3 separate regions of the Homo sapiens genome follow, and regions 2 and 3 are each linked to region 1. Evidence: promoter capture Hi-C in 16 types of primary human blood cells and fetal thymus (Javierre and others, 2016). All regions are on one chromosome and are shown on one strand. The core of a region is centred on a gene start or on the middle of the fragment in contact, and the rest is flanking DNA. Distances in the headings are between cores, read along the strand shown.

Region 1 (2,916 bases), core at 153-2,652:
ACTGCAACCTCTGCTCCCAGGTTCAAGCGATTTTCCTGGCTCAGCCTCCCAAGTAGCTGGAATTACAGGCGTGCGCCAACACTCCCCCGGCTTTTTGTATTTTTAGTAAAGGCGGGTTTCATCATGTTGGCGACGCTGTTCTCGAACTCCTGGCCTCATGTGATCCGCCTGCCTGGGCGTCCCAAACTGCTGGGATTACAGGTGTGAGCCACCTCGCCCGGCTAAAGATGGCTTATTTAAAGCTAGTAGTGAATTAATTCAGTTCCTAATTGAAACCTAGGTTTTAACAATAAACATTTGAATTTTGTTCAAGTTTTCTTCAGGGTACATTATATTATGAGACAGCATTGCTTTTTCACAACGAAACGTGACCATGCCAGAAAATAAAATGTTGCCTTCTTTACGGGCTTCCTTCTCCTTGTCAAACTTTGGTAGCATAGTCAGAAACAACTGAAAGGCAAAATACTAAAACATACAGCTCCAGTAACTTTTTTTTTTTAAGATTCTAAGCCAACAGTTTTTTGGAGCCTGCGGGAGGGGGGCGAGGAGTGTTGAAAGGGCCCTACTAAGCTGAGGTCGAGCCAACAGTGAAGCTTCAAAATTGTCAGCAGGCAGAGTCTCTGGAGAGGCAAATGAATAGGCTTAACAGAAGTCCCTTGCCCTGCAAAAAACGAGGCAGGTGCTAGGGGGGTGGACTTTTTGGATAGGATGGAAACCGGGACGGATGAAGTCTTCTCTGGTTAGAGAGGAAATTTGGTATTAAGAGAGCCTCACTGAATCCCAATAATAACCAAACAACTGGTGTTGTCCAGGGCACCGGCTGGAAAGTGGGAGGCAGGAAGCAGAAAGGCTCAAGCTCCTTTCCCTGAGTCGGTTCAGGATTTTAATTTCAGCCAATGTTTATTGGGGCACGGTGTTAAGCACGGTGATATCAAGCTGAATAAAACGTGGTCTTGTCCTTGAAGAGCGTATAGTTCAGTGAAATGGCTTTAACATTCCTCGTGGGTTTTGATAACTTTTATCCTGGGAGTTGTCAGGGAAGAGCTGCATCTAAATCCATCCATACTTTGGTAAAGATTTCAAAACAGAGGAAGCAAGATACGGGGCGACGAGGTTGGAGGAGAGATGACGGCAGGGGCCGGTGCCAGATTTGGGAGCCGCCAACGCCGGGCTGTGCTGGTGCTGCATGCTGGCAAGGGGCAGCCAAGACCGTGCTCCGCGCGGGCACCCTCGGGCTCGGTCCCAGCAGCTGGCAGTGCCGTGCGGGCGGACTGCGGTGGGCCTGGCAGGGGCCGAGCGTAGGTCCGGAGCAGCTTGCGCGGCCGGCGCCCGCCCCCAGGGGGCAGAGTTCCCGGGCTCGTGCCTGCGCCGCTACCTGGGGCTCAGGCCCAACCGCTCCCCGCTGCGTCCGCGCCTTCTCTTTTCCGGTCCTCTCCGCCGGCCGGGGCTCGGCTGAGCTCCAGATTTCCCCACCCGCGGCCGCCGCCAGGGGACAGGAGCCGAGGCGCGGCAGGGCACCAGCGGCGGGAGGCAAGGTTGGGGAGGCGAGGGCGGTCCGCGTGCGGGGGCGGGAGGGGGCTGGGGGATTCGAGGGACGCGGCAGCCCCGCCCCCGCCCCCTCCTCTTCTCCGCTCCAAGCCCGAGAAGCTGGGGAGCATGGACCAGACCCCGCAGCGCTGGCACCATGACGCTCGCCCGCTTCGTGCTAGCCCTGATGTTAGGGGCGCTCCCCGAAGTGGTCGGCTTTGATTCTGTCCTCAATGATTCCCTCCACCACAGCCACCGCCATTCGCCCCCTGCGGGTCCGCACTACCCCTATTACCTTCCCACCCAGCAGCGGCCCCCGAGGACGCGTCCGCCGCCGCCTCTCCCGCGCTTCCCGCGCCCCCCGCGGGCGCTCCCTGCCCAGCGCCCGCACGCCCTCCAGGCCGGGCACACGCCCCGGCCGCACCCCTGGGGCTGCCCCGCCGGCGAGCCATGGGTCAGCGTGACGGACTTCGGCGCCCCGTGTCTGCGGTGGGCGGAGGTGCCACCCTTCCTGGAGCGGTCGCCCCCAGCGAGCTGGGCTCAGCTGCGAGGACAGCGCCACAACTTTTGTCGGAGCCCCGACGGCGCGGGCAGACCCTGGTGTTTCTACGGAGACGCCCGTGGCAAGGTGGACTGGGGCTACTGCGACTGCAGACACGGTTAGTGGCCTCGGGGCGGCCGCGGAAACTCCGGACGGGCTCGGAGCCAGTGAGGCTTGGGGCCGGCGTACAGGTCTCTTGGAAAAAGTGACGGGGTGTGTGGGGTTGTGGGCTTGCGTTTGCGGGCTGTGATGGTGGGCTGCAGCTGGGTTACCAGTAAGGTATACTGGTGCTGCAAATCTAAGCCAGCCAGGTGTGCTTGTGTGAAGGTTGTCAGGGGTGACAGTTCTATGCAAGGTGCTGAGCTCTGGGTTTCTGAATTTGCTCTGTCCTCTGGCCACTGTGTGTGTGTGTGCGCTCGTGTATTGGGTGACAGTGTGCTTTGGGCGTCTGTTCTCTAGATTAGCTTACGTTGAGTGGGTTACCATATTTACATTAAAGAGGCATAATTACTTGTTCTGGAAAGGGAAATGTTACATTAACGTGGCAATCAATAACCTTCCCTCCATTCTTTAGACTCCGATTTTTAAAAATGTGGTAAAATTTTGCCTTAATTTAGCTGTTGACCTCTGTTTTAAAAAGTATGGCAAAATTATGTGGCCAAAATCAGCCATATTCACATACTCCAGCTCAGTATGGTAAGTATCATCAGTGACTGGAAAAAAAGAAAGGGAAAAGAGATGGGAATACTACTATCTTGGTGAAGTAGCAACTTAATATAGTTATACACAGTTTTCCAGAGCCATTACTTAGCTTTATATGTTTTATCAGGATTAGTTGGTAACATCAG
Region 2 (2,916 bases), core at 195-2,694, 2.0 Mb after region 1:
AATTCCAAATGAAATTGTACAGTGACACATTTGTTTCAAGTCCCTGATTTCTCAGATAAAGAGGGCTTATTACTTCTGCAGCCACCCATTAAGTTAGTGACTTGAAGCTAACCTCCTATCTTCTGACTCACAATTTTGTGTATATTATGAAAAACATGTATATTCATATTTAATGTTTATATTAAATATTAACACATTTTTAATTAAAATTAATATATTTTAATTACATGTTAATGTATTACTAGATTTGGAGAACTTTTCCTGCTTCTGTGTTATAACAGTGATTAAAACAGTCAAGATCGATGTGGTCATAGAGGTTAGTATAAAAGACAAAATAAAGAAATGTTTCACTTTCTGGGAGTGATAATTTTGTGTGGAAAAGTAGAGTGAGAGAATGGAGAACAGTTGGAGAAGAAATCTGTTCTAGGTACATTAGTCTAAATGGAATTCCGTAACATATGAAAAGACTTAAATCAAGTTTATGAATTATGCAGAGAAGATAAGTTTATCAAAATTATTTTTCAAAAGAAAAAAGATCTCAGATAACCTTAATAATCACCCCATATCACATATCTTATAAATGATCAAATCAGGTGTGAATTCAAGCCTGTTTAAGACCATAGCAAATTTTCTTTCCATTACACTAGTCTTCATTTCTATTTAGTGATGTCATGTTTTAATGGTGTTGTTAATAATTATATGTCACATCAATAATTGAAATAATGCTATGTGTAACATTAAAAAATATTTCATTAGTGTGGTGGTCTTTAGTGATGTGGCATGGTTTTTAAAATGTAGGTATTAATCAAGCAATATAAAAATGCTTATGCTAATTTTAAAGTATTATTGAAAAAATATCCAGGGGAAATGTGTACTCTATTTAAAGGCCAATGAAGATTCAGAAAAATAATACTCATAAAAAGCTTTGTAGAGGTTGTAGGATTTTATCTATCTTTTGAACCTTGGAAAATATTTCAATTATTTTACAGAAAAATAAGATAGGTCCATGGAGTGTTAACAAACATGAAACAAAAGAATCTTACAGAGCAGATATAGAGATAAGAAGTCAAGAAAGAGCAAAAAAAGAAGTTCAGATAAAACTAATAGAAACTAATTTTGGATAGTTAGAACATGATCAGATTATAGAAATACTAAAAAAATACTAGATGTAAAGGTTTTATTTTGTTTTTTAATAAAAGCGTGTTTTAATTAAACTTGGTTAGCAATATTATGAAGACATGACTAGTGCAGAGACACCTAGTAGGAAGATGAAACAGATGGGGAGCTTTCGAGTCTTCTACACATGACACAGTAATGTTAGAAAAACTCAGACTGCCTCAGATAGGACAGAGTTCATTTCCAATTTTGTTCCAACATTGTGTTACCATGGGAAACTTAATTTCACTAAGCCTCAGCTTTCTCACAAACAAAATGAGTAAAAAATACTTAAGTGATGAAGTTTCTTGGAATTATATGTTGTTATTATTTTCACAGCCACCTCCACTCTGAAAAGAAATTACATGTCTTATTATATTAGGATATGATATGCACAAATGCTCAAGAAATGCTACAAAGGCATATGTGATGAAGTGGACAGAGGACAATCATTCACACCCCATATGTCTGAAATTAGATTATTTGAAGTGCATAGCTTAAAGATGTTTATTCATGTACTACAATTATCAGTCATTTACAATATGCTAAATATTCTGCAAGTACATTTTGACATAAAAAATTCATTGAAACAATCTAGAGTCTATGAAAAATACATTAGTAATCGCTTGGAATATATATTTCATGTGGGGATGCAGGGAAATAAAAGAAACAAAACCCTGAATGGACAGAGTAAAAAAAAATCCATACCTAGACATATAGTAGGAAAATCTCATAATAATTCATATATCTTGTTTTCCATTTTTTGACTTTCTACTTTGTGTGCTTTCCTTGTAAACAGCATAAGCTTATAGACACTGTATTATAATGGATAAAGGTATATATAGACTTTAAAACTAGAATGACAGGATTTGAATTCTAACTTCCCTGCCTTGTATAACTTAACTTTTTTTCAGTTTTCTCTTTATAAATTTAGACATATATTAATATAACCCAGTGTACTGAAATATCAAGTTAAAAACATATTATTGTCTTGTATAATACTAAGGCAGAACTCTAGTGTAAGCTATGAACTTTGAATGGTGTTGAGACATGCCAATGTAGGTTCATCAGTTATAATAAATGTAACACTCTAGTGGGGAATGCTCATAGTGTGGGAGGCTGCACATGTGTGAGAATAGTAAAAATATGGGAACTCTCGTATTTCTGTTCAATTTTGTTATAAAACTGAAACTGTTCTAAATATAAAGTCTCCTAAATTATCTAGCACTACAAAAATATGATTATCTCAATAGATGCAGAATGAATGCAACATGATTCAAAATCTATTCGGATTAAAATTTTAAAACTCAATCTGATAAAATAATCATTAAAAAGCCATAATGAATATCACACATTATGGTAAAATATAAGAATTGTACTATTTAAAATCAGGAATGAGAGCAGAATGTCTATTGGTTTAGTCTGTTCAAGCTGCTATAACAAAATATCATAAATTAAGTAGCTTATAAATATCAGAAATTTATTTCTCACAGTTCTGGAGACAAGAAAGTTCATGATCAATGTATTGACAGATTCAGCATCTGGTGAGGGCTCACTTCCTGGTTCACAGGCTGTCAGCCCTTCCTTTCCACTCTTCCACTGTATTGAACAGTAGCTCCAGGCTTCTGGTTGAGATAGCTGACTATTCTCTTTATTTGGTGATTTGGCCATACCCTTAGTGGTCTCTTCAAACCTTGCTTTCACATTTTTTTTTAACAAGATAGATAAGCTGAGAACTTTTCAAATCTTTAAGTTCGAATT
Region 3 (2,916 bases), core at 227-2,726, 2.0 Mb after region 1:
CCTAAATTAGGTTTTTGGTTTTTTTTTTGCATACTGTCAGATTGCAGTTTGTTATGTAGGAACTCAAAATACATAGATAATCTCAGGTTAAGGGTCTCCTGCTTATTTGTTTTAACATTTATAATAGTCAAATGATGAGGGAACAATGCTTATACTTTTTACAATTACACATACAAGTAATTTTACGTGAAATTACTGAGTCATTTCTTCTTAAAATGTTTATAAATATTTAGATATAATTCTTCATGTGAACAAGTATTATTTTGCATAAATGCCATACATTTAGAGTTAAAAATATTTTATTTATATTTTATGTCCATTAGGATAAATAGAAATATCCATGTAAATTTACAATCTCTGCTTTCTAAAAATTAAGAATTAACTTTTTCAAAATTTAAGGTTGCATGTCTGGAAATATAATACTTGTGCTGTTTTCTGTTATTATATTCAATCAGCAAAACAATCATTTAAAATGTTTTATTCACAGAAAATTTTCTCTCTGTAACATTTTAATAATTCAGATATTTTTAATAGTTTAGATTTCCCACTTTCTTTGTTAAAAAAAAAAAAATCCAGCCAAGCGCAGCGGCTCACGCCTGTAATCCCAACATTTTGGGAGGCCGAGGCGGGTGGATCACCTGAGGTCAGGAGTTCAAGACCAGCCTGGCCAACATGGGGAAACCCTGTCTCTACTAAAAGTACAAAAATTAGCTGGGCTTGGTGGTGGGTGTCTGTAATCCCAGCTACATGGGAGACTGAGGAAAGAGAATTGCTTGAACCTGGGAGGCGGAGGTTGCAGTGAACCGTGTCGTTCCACTGCGCTCCAGCCTGGGTGATAAAGCGAGACTGTGTCTAAAAAAACAAAAACAAACAAACAAACAAAACAAAAAAACCTATAGAAAAAGCTTCAGTTTCAGCACTCAAGAATGAACTTGCAGAATTCCAAGATTCTTAGACAGAACATTCATATTTTCATTTTCGACTCTACACATCAACATTATATTAAAGCCTTCTTAATTTTACATTTATTACATTGTTTTCTAAAGAAGTGAATCTCAATTTTGAAATTAAGTTTAAAAATATTATGAAATAAAATAAAATTTTCATCGGAGAACATGACTACCCCACAAGAGACCATTAGCAATTTCATCCTATGGCTCTGCAATAAAACATGCTGTGTAAAAGTGATTGCATTTGAAGTTACTTGTACATTTGAATGCAAACTACCCAATCATGAAAAATGAGGCTTCCATTTTCTATAAAAATAAATTAGGAGGCAATGCTTTGCTGGCAAAGCCATTTGAGCTCCTCAGTTCATAACTATTTATGGTAACATAAACAGATGTCTTTGCTCACACTGTGAACTGCTTTGCAATATTAATTTAACATTACTTTATATCCTAAAGTGAATGTAGGTGACTTGTTTTAGGATCTAATAAAACCAGCCCTGATGTAGAGATCCCATAGGAAATTATACAATAACGTTACCTCCATAAATAATTTTCTTCTTATGAAATCATAATCCCCATTACAATTTTAGAACTGTTATTTAATATCATGATTTCCACATTAATATCTTAGGTACAAATGTAATTTTTAAAATGAAAACACACTTTTCAAGAAGACATTCCTTTGGGAAAATAAGTTTTCACTTCTAAATTTAAAGTAGAATAAAATAAATATTGGCTGTGTCACCTATTGCTTATTGACAGTAAAATTACTTTTTAGTTAACAGAACAATTTTTCTCTGACAAAATATTATGATGGTAGTGCCCAGTAAATTGTAACTAAGAAAGCTGATAATAACTGCTCAAATATGAATAACATAAATGCTGTCTGAAAATTATGCATATCTTTAAAATTCCTGAGAAACATTTAAGAATAAAATATTATCTTAAATGTAGTAGTTCTTCCTGCCCAAATGCATTCACCAACAGACATATATTAATATGTCTACTGGAAGCAGTATTATACAATAGAAAGAGCAAAGATTTGAAGTTTAAAAAAAAACGGTTCTGATCTGAGTTCAAACAGCTATAAAGCTTTTCATTTGCCCCTCAACACTAATTTCCTCATCTAGAAAATTGGAATAAAAATGGCCACTGTCTACTTTTGTGGTAATTGCATTTTTAAAGATTAAATTATATAAAAATTACAAAATGTGTAATTCGATGCTAGACATATAGCATTGTTTCTAATTTGCATATTAAAATGTTTCTTGGTATACGCATTTAATAACACGAGAATAAATCCAGTGTCTTTATATTAGGTCCTAAGAAAAATAATATTTCTAATTAAATAATCCTAAAGATACTTCCAAAAATGCTGACTTAGGAAAATAAAATTAAAAAATAACCTAACAAATATTCTTTCTTCTTTACATTTGCCTCCATGACATATTAATAGCAGGAGTCAATAATAACTGTTTTATAGTAACTGCTTCTAAGCATTTTCTTCCAGAAGGACATATAATTATAAGGAAAAAGTATTAAATAAATTTTAGACATGGGGAAAAAATACTTTCTTCTTCCCATCATATTGTGCAAGATACTGAAGGACTTTATATGAATTAAGTCTACTTTTATTAAATGATGTTAATAATCTATCACTACTTGTTTGCCAAATAATCATCTATACCTTAAACTTTTGTCTCTTTTAGATATGCCATTTAGTGTTGTTCCTCATGGTGATTTTTCTCTGTTGGGGCTCAGAAAGTGATACTCCAAAGACTGGGGCTTTGACATGCTAAGAGGCTTTAGATGCTGTCTCAGAATCAACATCCCTCAAACCCTGCCTTATTTCCCTCTCCCACCCAAAGTGCAAGGAGAAGTAGCTCTGAAATTTCCTTATATGACCAAGAAAGCCTCTTTTCAAAAGAAATACAACTGTTTCAAATAACTAGGAAAGATCAACTAC

The links. Contacts are between HindIII fragments. The CHiCAGO score rates a contact against its expected background, and 5 or more counts as called.
Region 2: a contact is called between a fragment that was not itself captured here and the fragment with the promoter of PRSS12 in region 1, in 1 of 17 cell types (M2 macrophages). The highest score is 5.3, in M2 macrophages.
Region 3: a contact is called between a fragment that was not itself captured here and the fragment with the promoter of PRSS12 in region 1, in 1 of 17 cell types (M1 macrophages). The highest score is 5.8, in M1 macrophages.

What each region holds. Positions count from the first base shown.
Region 1 is chr4:118,351,489-118,354,404 of GRCh38, reverse strand. PRSS12 (serine protease 12) reads left to right here and starts at 1,402. Exons shown (of 13, transcript NM_003619.4): 1 at 1,402-2,186. The coding sequence starts at 1,685. RefSeq lists silencers at 1,176-1,435, 1,466-1,545 and an enhancer at 812-1,657. The HindIII fragment of the contact is 7,140 bases long and covers 596-2,916 here.
Region 2 is chr4:116,375,653-116,378,568 of GRCh38, reverse strand. No RefSeq gene overlaps it. Among named protein-coding and RNA genes, the nearest start is that of MIR1973, 77 kb to the right of the region's middle. The HindIII fragment of the contact is 1,037 bases long and covers 926-1,962 here.
Region 3 is chr4:116,397,333-116,400,248 of GRCh38, reverse strand. No RefSeq gene overlaps it. Among named protein-coding and RNA genes, the nearest start is that of MIR1973, 99 kb to the right of the region's middle. The HindIII fragment of the contact is 1,137 bases long and covers 908-2,044 here.